Linked DNA regions of Homo sapiens: region 2 is linked to region 1. The links are contacts of gene promoters, found by promoter capture Hi-C in blood cells and fetal thymus (Javierre and others, 2016). All regions are on one chromosome and are shown on one strand. Each heading gives the region's core, a stretch centred on a gene start or on the middle of the fragment in contact. The rest is flanking DNA. Distances are from core to core; before and after follow the strand shown. Region 1 holds the start of OR4D2 (olfactory receptor family 4 subfamily D member 2). Region 2 has its middle 24 kb from the start of OR4D1.

The links. The method cuts DNA at HindIII sites, captures the fragments that hold promoters and counts their contacts. A CHiCAGO score of 5 or more calls a contact.
Region 2: a fragment that was not itself captured here is called in contact with the fragment with the promoter of OR4D2 in region 1 in 3 of 17 cell types (total CD8 T cells, non-activated CD4 T cells and naive CD4 T cells); the score reaches 5.6 in total CD8 T cells.

The regions. Positions count from the first base shown.
Region 1 is chr17:58,163,349-58,169,201 of GRCh38, forward strand. It overlaps OR4D2 (olfactory receptor family 4 subfamily D member 2), which reads left to right and starts at 3,634. Exons shown (of 2, transcript NM_001004707.4): 1 at 3,634-3,705. The HindIII fragment of the contact is 4,615 bases long and covers 2,498-5,853 here.
Region 2 is chr17:58,121,736-58,127,588 of GRCh38, forward strand. No RefSeq gene overlaps it. Among named protein-coding and RNA genes, the nearest start is that of OR4D1, 24 kb to the right of the region's middle. The HindIII fragment of the contact is 2,884 bases long and covers 646-3,529 here.

The DNA.
Region 1 (5,853 bases), core at 2,384-4,883:
ACATCCAAGTATTAATTAAACTGATATTCTTTGTCTATATTTCATGTACAAACATACACACACACTTCTTACTCATCCTTTTAAACTTTTGCTCTTTTCCATTTCATTGTGTTTAGTTCTCTTAAGCCTGCCTTTCAGATATCTTACTGTATTTTAAGCAGTGACTATTCTCATTTTCACTGTTTCCATTTTTTTGTGATGATTTTATTTTCTTCCTATTCTTTTTTCCTGATCTCTGCCAGTTACGTTTTCCATCTCTGTTTTCATATTATCATTCAATTCTTAAGATTTAATTATTCTGCTGAGCTCTTAATAGATAGAAGTTTGATTCATTTTTTTCTGAGTTATCTACATTCTTGAAAAACTTTTCAATAAAAATTTTCTTCTCTATTCTGTTCTGTGCTCTTCACCTGCCTTCTTTCCTCCTTTTTGACCTATTTTTTATAGACTCTGCAAGTTGCTTTTTAATTATTACACATTCTTAAAGAAGCAATTTGTTTAACTAGTTATGTGTTAAAATAAAAAGTGGTGGTGATGGTAGTGAAGACAGGCCAGGGAGTGCTCTGGGTTAATTGTCCTGGGCTCACAGTGCAGCACTGAACACTGAATGATAGAGGCATTTGTGTGTTTGTGTGTGTGTGTGTGTGTGTGTGTGTGCGTGCGTGTAAATTTAGTCTATCTCTTCAGCTGGTAAAGATCAGCAGCTGCAGGGGTGCCCATAGCCCACAGTTTCTCTATCTTACTGGATAGTGCAGTTATAAATGTGGCATAAGCCCAGCCTCTCAATCCCTTTTTGGTGTTTAATATCACTTAAGGAAGCTCTTGCAGCCAGCCTGTGTGCCCGGATCTGGTCCATCCACACAAAGGTGGTTGTTTTATCTTCATTATATACCACCTACTTAGGAGCCAACTCTGCCAGCATTGTCCAGGAGTTGTTGTGGGCAGAAGCCTCTCTCTCTTCACAGTACTTGATAGTCCTTCATGGTTCATTTTGGGTTTTGTTGTCATCTGAGTTGTAAACATGTCTTAATTTTATTGAAAGTGGAATTTCTGTTGCCAGTGAGGAAGAGAAAAATAAAAACCTTTGTTTTCTTATAACCAGAAGTCATTTATTCATTTAATTTTTTAAAAGTTGTCTTGGGCCACTTTTTAGTTTATAAAAATCTTACTTTTATATGATTCAGAATATCAGTTCTAAAGGTAATATACAGCACAGAAAAGCTGCTTATAATCTACAACACTGACACAAAGGGAAGGAATATAAGTAAAATTTCTTCCAGATTTATCTTACACATGGTTAATCCACAACACCAGGTGCTTAATTGAATTTGTTGAATATGCCCCCATTAAAATGAATATGGCTATATTTATGAGAATTTATGCCTTTAAGACATCTCTTACTGAGGCTATGTTCTCTGAGAGAGAGAGAGAGGAGAGAGAGAGAGAGAGAGAGAGAGAGAGATAAAGGTATTTATTGCAAGGACTTGGCTTACATGATTGTGAAGCTGGCTAGGCAAGTACGTAATCTGCAGGGCAGGCCATCAGCTGAAGTTGCTGTCTACATGCAGAATTTTCCTCCTTCAGGGAAACCTCAGTTCTTCTCTTTAGTTCTTTCAACTGATTGAATCAGGCACACCCAGATGATCTAGGATAACCTCCTTTACTTAAAGTCAACTGATTATAGACATCAATTTTATCTACAAAATACCTTCACAGCAACACCTAGATTAGAGTTTGATTGAATAACTGGAAACTATAGCCTAGTCAAGTTGACACATAACACAGACCATCACAAAGGGAGAATGATTAATTATCAATGATGCTGGGCTTCCTGCATGAGAATTTACATGATATTTCCTCTACACGTGTCCTGTATCCGTTTAGTGGCTTGACATTATAATAGTAGCTAAGTCTGACAAACATTTATTTTCTTAGAAATGTGATACATATAGAAATAATTTTCTCAGCTCAATTTTCCATGACTGAGTCTTTAGCATAATTACTCCATCCAGGCCATTCATACACTGGCAACCATTATACTGGCTAGTGGTTGCAGTAAAGATGAGCTTTGATGGACATTTTACGACCTACCTGTACTTTTGACAGGGGAAATATATAAACTGGAACCTACCAGGTCTCTATTACTGAAAGCTAAATCGGAATCATAAAGAATTAATCCAGGTAATTCAAAATCACCCATCTGAGAGTCAATAACATTAACAAGGCCTGTGCCCATCCCCACCATCAATCTAGACTACTTTCCTGAGTGGCTCAATTTTAAAGTAGACTAAAGCTCCAAATAATGGGAAGAATTTGTGTTTTTTTTAAATTGACATCTCTTGTATGTGAAAGAACGTCACTTCGTGTTCTTATCCCCAGAGGCAGAGTCTTTATTTTGCCAAGTATAAACATTCGCAATGAAAGAACTCAGACCAACCTGAGAACCTCACGTGGATCAGAGAGCTGTGAGAAATCACACAGATTTTACAGCACATCAAGCTTACAGTGTTGGTTAATTCCAATTTTTAATCAGTTCCTCATAATTAGAAAATATATGGGCTTCTTGTGCCAATCCTTGTATTAAAGGGAGTAATAATTGACATGTAAATAATGCTAGCACTTTGTAGATGGTGTGAGTATAATTGATATGGGTAGTGAATCAACTGTGGGGGTATTGGTTGACAAGATGAAGAACAAGATTTATGGGGTAATTAAGTTTTCATTTTAGTATGCAGACATTTTCCCATCCATGACGTTGCCTATGTAAAGATCAATTCAGTTTAAAAGGAGAAGAAATCAAACCAGTTACCTTGACAACACCATGAAAGAGAACTATCCATTGTGCTGAAGAGCAAGTCGTTGGTTCTCAATGTCTGGTCCCTGGAACAGGTGCATCAGCATTATCTGAGAACTTGCTACAAATGCAAATTCTTGGTCTTACCATTGATGTACTGAATGAGAAATTCTGGGCTGGGAACAGAAGTCTGCCTTTTAACAAGGCCTTCAGGTAATTCTCTCAAGGGTAGGTGTCACTGGTCTAAGAAAGAAATTCTCCTAAAACTCTCAGAGTCTCCTTTTTTTTGAAGACCCTCTTGTCCTTTTGGATCTTGGCCTGAATATTACCCATTCCTCAAATCTCTAAAATTTTCAATGTGCTTGGTACTTTGGGCCCCCCAAGGAAGACCTCTCAAAGAGTGTGTGCTTTTGAGACATTTAGAAACTTTTTAACAACTCCCATTGCTCCCTTGGCCCCAGTGATAATCAGCCCAGCTCAGCTTCCTGAGCCCTGTCCAATAGTTTCTCCCAAAGGATATTCCCCCTTCCCCTGGGGTCTCACCCATGGTATTATTCATGAAGTAAGGGCAGGAGCTAAGAAACTGTGAGGCTGAAGCAAAGGATCTCCAAGAAGATGTACACTGAAGCCCCATTCTGGGCTAAAGGGAGGTGAGAGACCAGTGTTTCCTCAGCTGCACAGAGATCAGCTGTAAGAAAGATCTTGCAACACCTGCTAGAGGGTGGGAGTAATAAGCAAGTGACATAGACCTGACGATAGTAAGTCTAAAGGATGAGCAGAGACTCAAGAAAAACTGCAAGGGGAATGTGATGTTGAAAACGGATGCCTCCGATTACATAGGAAAACAACAAAGCACAGAATTCGCCCTATGAGACTTAGAGGGAGGATGCTCACAGCAAAGGACATCAACGGTGAGGAAAATCACAAGATTCTCGACATTGTCACATAAAACAAAGTCACATTTACCTGCTAATATATTAAGTTGGCAAACATTTCTGAGCAAGTGCTAAATCAGAGATGCTGTCATAGACTCTGGGCTTACTAAGTTATTGAATTTACAATCTAGTTAAGAGAAGCAATAGAAAAAATGATAAATGCTATAATGGAGGTATTTATCAAATGCTATTGGAACACAGAGAAATAAGGAATTAATTCTGCATGAGAGAAATGGGGGGAGGAGTCAAAGGGAAAGTGATATTTCTCTTATCGCCTCTAGGTTGAGAAGGTAGCAAAAGGCATTTCAGGAAACAGGATTTATTACCAAAGATATGAAAATAATGAAATATACTGCCTACATGGAAGCTATGAGTTCTTTGAACAGCAATCAGTTCCCAGGTGACAGTGATACTGATTAGAAAGGTATAGGGAGGCTATTTTTTATAGTCTTGTATGAAATGCTGAGAGAGAGTTGCATGCACGTATGTAGGTATGTTTTTCCACCCTCAGTTTATCCACAGAGCATTTTAGGTGGCTTCTGAGAGTTTGAGTTTTAAGCTGTGAGCAAATCAAATATTATAACAATGAGGAATATGATCACATCTGAGTCAGAGGGGTCTCATGGACAGCTGTGTAGAAGGTGTCCTGGAGTGAGGCCAGGCGCGGTGGCTCATGCCTGTAATCCCAGCACTTTGGGAGGCGGAAGCGGGCGGATCACGAGGTCAGGAGATCGAGACCATCCTGCTAACACAGTGAAACCGTGTTACAAAAAAAATTAGCCGGGCGAGGTGGTGGGCGCCTGTAGTTCCAGCTACGCGGGAGGCTGAGGTAAAAGAATGGCGTGAACCCGGGAGGCGGAGCTTGCAGTGAGTGAGCCGAGATCGCGCCACTCCAGCCTGGGCGACAGCGAGACTCCGTCACAAAAAAAAAAAAAAAAAAAAAAAGAAGGTGTCCTGGAGTGGAAGTAAACTGAAGGAGCAGAATAAGATTAGAATGACCTATAATATTGTAGATAATAGATTGCAATAGGCCAGGTAAGAGAGGGTAAGAGAGATTGAGACAGGGCAGGGGGAGGGGGGAGACCACTGACCCCCTCCCCTGTCACCCTCCATCTTCTTCTTCTTTTTTTTTTGTTTTTGATTTTTTGAGACAGAGTCTCGCTCTGTCACCCAGGCTGGAGTGCAGTGGCATGACCTCCACTCACTGCAGCCTCCAACCAGCTTCAAGCGATTCTCCTGCCTCAGCCTCCCAAGTAGCTGAGATTACAGGTGTGTGCCACCACGCCCGGCTAATTTTTTTGTATTTTTAGTACAGATCCGGAGTTTCACCATGTTGGCCAGGCTGGTCTCAAACTTCTGACTTCAAGTGATCCATCCGCCTCCGCCTCCCAAATTTCTGGGACTACAGGCGTGAGCCACCTCTCCCGGCTCCTCCATCTTCTTCTGTCCCTTTAGTCCCGTTTTCTCCACCTCCCCAGCACTTTTCCACTTCCTTTACCTTCACTTGCTCTATTCCTTCATCTCCCTTTATTCCTTTGTCTATTTCTATTTGTTTTCTTTCAACAACTTCCTTTGTCTCCCACCCTTGGATTCAGTAACATCTTGTAAAATTCCTGTTTCATTCAGAAGCTCTCTGAGTCCCCTTCATACAATATTCATCATCTATTTCTCAATCCAATGACTCTCCCTCCCTTTTCTCCCTCTTGTCTCAGCACCACCACATATGCCTCACTCATAAGGGGCCGCCCACAGTGGAGGGCAGGGGAACTACTGGATGTCTCAGGCATCCAGCTGCATCCAGTGTCTTCCTTGTGCTGAACTTGTGCACCTGATAGCTATTCACCCATGCAGCAGTCAACACCAAGAGCTTTTTAAGTTAACTGTCATTAAGAATGGGTACTGCAGGGCACAAATAAATTGTGAGATCCAGATATAGGCTTTGGACTTAATAGTTGAATTGTGGAGGGAAAATATAGACAAGGAAAATCCATTAACACGATGATGTATTAAATGTCATGTGAAAAATAATTGGCAAAGAATCTTATTACAGAGTGGAAGAGAGGATATCTTTAGATTAAGAGAATTCACACAGGTGAGTAATTGCCATTGATTATTCCATACACT
Region 2 (5,853 bases), core at 838-3,337, 43 kb before region 1:
TTCACGCCTGCAATCCTAGGCCTTGGGAGGCCAAGGCGGGCGGATCATGAGGTCAGGAGATCAATACCATCCTGGCTAACACTGTGAAACCCTGTCTCTACTAAAAATACAACAAATTACCCAGGTGTGGTGGTGGGCGCCTGTAATCCCAGCTACTCGGGAGGCTGAGGCAGGAGAATCACTTGAACCCGGGAGGCAGAGGTTGCAGTGAGCCGAGATCACACCACTGCACTCCAGCCTGGGCAACAAGAGCGAAACTCCGTTTCAAAAAAAAACAAAAAAACAAAAACGAGTGCTCAGCTATTGTCTCTGGACTTTATTTCCAAGGCACTGCTTGGAGTTTTGATGCTGGAACTTGCTTGATCTTACCAGAAGATGTCAGCAATGACAACTACTTCATGGCTGCCACCTGGCTGTCAGCCATTGTGTGGTCACTAGATTTCAGAGTTGTTTATATGTGAAAAAAAAAAAATCAGTATTTTAGAATGGGTGAAGACAGTAACTGGTAAACATTATTTCAAATATCTTTCTGTGCTTATAAACAACAAGAAGAATAAATGGATAGAAAGAGAAAGTTTTACATAAGGTTAGACAAAAATGATTTTGTAAAAATTAATCACTACATTTTATCAAAAATGCAAATTAAGCTTCTGAAATTTTAATGAAATTCAACAGAAGAAAAATAAATTGAAGTAGATCTGAAGGAATGGCTATAATTTAAATAATGTTTCCACCCCAGGAGATATTAATTACTAAAAGGATTCTTATAAGGGTAAGGACAAGTGGTTATAAAAACCATAAAATCATAAAGAGGTTGGAGTCATTGATTTTTCAAACCTCACACATTTCGATTTCAGACAGTATTGATTGATCCCCCGCTATAAAAGGTGAGATGGTTAGCACAGTTACACTTCCTCCCTCCTCCCTTTGCCAATCTCCCAATTTTGTTGCTTATGTTGATTTTTCTCTTGTTGGGATTTATATTATTTATATTCTGTTTTGTAATTGTAATTCCTAGCATTTATAATTAGTGTGTAAAGCTGACTTCCCAATCTTTTTGCACTGTCTTCATTTTTTTTTTTTTTTTGAGACAAGAGTTTCGCTCTTGTTGTCCACGCTGGAGTGCAATGGCGCAATCTCAGCTCACTGCAACCTCCATCTCCCAGGTTCAAGCGATTCTCCTGCCTCAGCCTCCCAAGTAGCTGGGATTACAGACATGCACCACCAAGCCTGGCTAATTTTGTGTTTTTTTTTTAGTAGAGATGGGGTTTCTCCATGTTGGTCAGGCTGGTCTCGAACTCCTGGCCTCAGGTGATTCACCCACCTCGGCCTCCCAAAGTGCTGGGATTACAGGCGTGAGCCACCGCATCCGGCTCTTCTTCATTTTTAAGTCCTTTTGGCTTTGTAATGACATCTTTTCAAAGTAAGACATGCACATAGTTTAAAAAGTCAAGTTTTACCACTTGGCCCTAAATGAAAAATTGCATTTCTCTGCTCCCTATTTTCACTTATCCAAACCTCACAGCTCTGAGGGAGTAATCCCTACCTTTTACAACGATCTCCTTTGTTGTCATGTTCACAGCCCCCAAACAGTGACTTCTTGCTATGGCAGCTGAGCTTTTCGATGATTTACTAGACCTCTCCTAACACACATATACATACACTCAGCATCCTCTCATCCTCCACATATAATTATCACCACTTTTCATTAAATCAAGATCCAGTGCAGAGGCCTGCCAACATATGTGACAGCTGTACTGGATCATTTTTTATCACCTAGGAGGTGATAAAAATATAATAATCATGAAATAAAACAAATATGTAATAGTAAGGAAAAGAAACAGTGAACCTTTTTTATTGAACTTCATATAACTAATAACAGTAAAAAATAAAAAATGAATATTGCAGTACTAAAAAAGGAAAAGCAATCATCCTAATATTGCGTCTTTTTTAGTGTAGGTGCCTTGGATGCACCAGCTTGTAATTTTTTAGCTTTTTCAGTAACTTTATGTAATGTTGAAGGTATTATACATTTCAAGATAGAGCCATACATTGCTTTTTTACATTTTTTCCTTACTGAAGTCCACTGGATTAATATTGTTTCATGTTAGTATGGGTACCTCACTTCAAGTTTCTTTATAAAATTCAGAGTAATTACAAACTGAATCAGTTGCTGGTTTCACAACAATATTACAAATGACCGCAAGTTCTTCCAAGCTCCTGCAGGACAAAAAGCACAACTATTTATCAAAGAATTCTTATATCTATGTAACAGAATTTTTGTCTTTAGTTACAATCTGATATATTAATATTTTAGGTTAGTAATTGTTCAATAACTATTAAGTGATCTTTAAAAATAAAACAAATGTCTCCAAAGGGTACCATTTAGGAAAGTACTAATAATAACACTAATTATACATTACATTTTTCTGGATTCATTCTTTAGTTTTAAAAACTAATAATTAATGGCCGGGCGCGGTGGCTCACGCTTGTAATCTCAGCACTTTGGGAGGCCGAGGCCGGTGGATCATGAGGTCAGGAGATAGAGATCACCCTGGCTAACGTGGTAAAACCCCGTCTCTACTAAAAATATAAAAAAATTAGCTGGGCATGGTGGCGGGCGCCTGTAGTCCCAGCTACTCGGGAGGCTGAGGCAGGAGAATGGCGTGAACCCGGGAGGCGGAGGTTGCAGTGAGCCGAGATCCCACCACTGCACTCCCAGAGCGAGACTCCGTCTCAAACCAAACAAAAAAAAACAAACAAAAAAACCTAATAATTAAAAAAAAAGAATAAATTTTAGGCCAGGCACAGTGGCTCACCCCTCCAGCACTTTAGGAGGCCGAGGCAGGTGGATCACCTGAGGTCAGGGATTCGAGACCAGCCTGACCAACATGGCGAAATCCTATCTCTACTAAAAATACAAAAATCAGCTGGGTGTGGTAGCGGGTGCCTGTGGTAGCGGGTTCCAGCTACTCAGGAGGCCGAAGCAGGAGAGTTGCTTGAACCCGGGAGGCGGAGGTTGCAGTGAGCTGAGATGGCACCATTGCACTCCAGCCTGGGCAACAAGAGCGAAACTCCGTCTCAAAAAAATTTTTTTAAAATTATTTAAATTAAGTAAAGCATATCATATATGAACAAAAACTGGCATTTACCAACCAAAAATATTATATTGTACCTTTTTGTTTGCACTGTTTCATTATTTTTAAACTCCAAGTGATTTGCACAGAATGACAAGATGAAGTAACTCAAGTTCTGTTTCTTTGTCGTTACAATACTGTGCTTGAATTATTTTTAATCTACTGTTTAAAAGCAGGAATGTGTGGTACCACAGGGGTAGAGACATAAACTGCACTAGAAATGAACCTGAACAATGATTCTGAACTATTATAAGTTTACTCTCAAACAATTGCCTGTAGCTGAATCTGTGTGTGTTGAAGATGGAATGTACAACTGGGAGTTGCTCAATTAGCTTTCATGTAAAACATAAAATGTTTATTAAAGGATAAATAATAAGAATGTGTTCATTTGAAGCTTGCAAATATAATGTTAAAGCTCAACAGTAATTTCAGAAATTATTTATAAATTATAAATTAGACAAACAAAAAATTTTCAGTGGGGGGAAAGAAGAATTTTATAATTGACACTATTTAGAATTGCTAGTGCACAGTGACAATGAAAACCACACTGACTTCTAGTTTTGTGATAGTTTTAAAGTTACCCTCAGTAATGCACTTCTTATTGCCAGCGCTTGAGGCAGACCGCTCTCACCATCCATCTTTGGTATGCCATTGGTTCGGCGTTTATATTATCAAGGTAATGCAATTAATATTGATAGTTGAGTCATAAACTGTACTATAATTACATTCCAACTTTTTTACTTCCTGAAGTTAATAATTGCCTCTTTTTTTGTTTGTGTTGTTTTCTATACACTAGTTCATTCTGAAATTTTCCACCAGAACTGAAAATCTTCTTTGAATTTTTGTTCAGACACCCCAAATGATCTATCAATTCTGCTTTTCTCTTGATATCAGTCCTCTGGGAGCAGTACATCATCCTACCACAAACTGGACAGGTTACTTCTTAAACACATTGTCTTCCTGGAAGCAGTTATCTTCCTGGCACTTCTCTTCACCACTGCCTAAGAAGTTTCCATCATTTTCCTTTTGTGTTGATTCTCACGTCTGGATCCCGTGTTTTCCTTCTTTATTCTCTTCATCATGCCGTCACAAAAGCACATCTTTCAGTAGCTTTTGGAGAAAGGGTGTGTGGGAGGTAAATTTTTAAAACCTGGCATATCTGAAAATATCTTTGCCTTTACAGCTTTATGTTTTCATTTTAATTTTGAATTAACATTCAGTAAAGTTGACTTTGTAGACAATTTTATAATTTTTTTTTTTTGAGATGAGGTCTTGCTCTGTCACTGGAGTGCAGTAGAATGATCACAGCTCACTGCAGCCTTGACCTCCCAGGCTCAAGCGATCATCCCACCTCAGCCTCCCAAGTCACTGGGAGGCTGCCACCACACCTGGCTAATGAAAACAGTTTTTTAAATTTTGGTAGAGACAGGGTCTCAGTATGTTGTCCAGGCTGGTCTCAAACTCCTGGACTCCAGCAATCCTCCTGCCTTGGCCTCCCAAAGTGCTAGGATTACAGATGTAAGCTACCGTGACTGGTCACAGTTTTATGAATTTTAACACACGTTGATTTAGGTAAGCACCACAAGATACAGAAGAGTTTCATTACCTCCGAAAACTCCCTCATGCTACCCCTTTGTAATCACACTGTCCTTCCCATCCCTAAGTCTTGGCAACCACACATCTGTTCTCTATCACTATAGGCTTGTCTTTTTGAGAATGTCATATCAATGGAATCATACAGCATGTAACATTTTAGGACTAACTTCTTTCATTCAATAATGCCTTTGAGATTCATCTAAGTGGTTGCATGTATCAACAGTTCATTGCTTTTTCTCACTGAGGAATGTTAGGTTTATCTATTTACCACTGAAGGACATGGGGTTGTTTCCAGTTGTTTATTGTTGTTTTGGAAATTATAAATGGAGCCATTACAACTATTTATTTACAGGTTTTGGTGCGAATATAAGCTTTTAAGTTTTCTAGGGTAAATACCTAAGAATTGTTGTCATATTATAAAGTGTATTTAACTTTATAAGACTGCCAAACTGTTTTCCAGAGTGGCAATATCATTTTGTAATCCCACCAGCAATGTCAGAGTTCTAGTTGCTTCTCATCCTAGTAAGCACTTGGTATTGTCAGTATTTTAATATTTTTAAGTATGTGTGGGGGGGGTGTTTGTTTGTTTGTTTGTTTTTTGAGACATAGTCTCACTGTGTCACCCAGGCTGGAGTGCAGTGGCGCGATCTCGGCTCACTGCATTTCCGCCCCCCGAGTTCAAGCAATTCTACTGCCTCAGCCTCCCATGTAGCTGGAATTACAGGTACAGGTGTGTGCCATCACATTCAGCTAATTTTTGTACTTGTAGTAGAGTCTTGTCATTATGAACTGGTCTTGAACTCCTGGCCTCAAGTGATCTGCCCGCCTTGGCCTCCCAAAGTGCTGGGATTATAGGTGTGAGCCACCGTGCCCGGCCAAACTTTTATTTATTTAGTTTAATTTTTACTTACTTATTTATTTGTTTGAGACGGAGTATCACTCTGTCACCCAGGCGGGAGTGCAGTGGCGTGATCTCAGTTCACCGCAACCTCCGCCTCCTGGGTTCAAGAGATTCTCCTGCCTCAGCCTCCCGAGTAGCTGGGATTACAGGTGTTTGCCACCACACCTGGCTAATTGTTGTAATTTTAGTAGAGACGGGGTTTCACCATGGTGGCGCGGC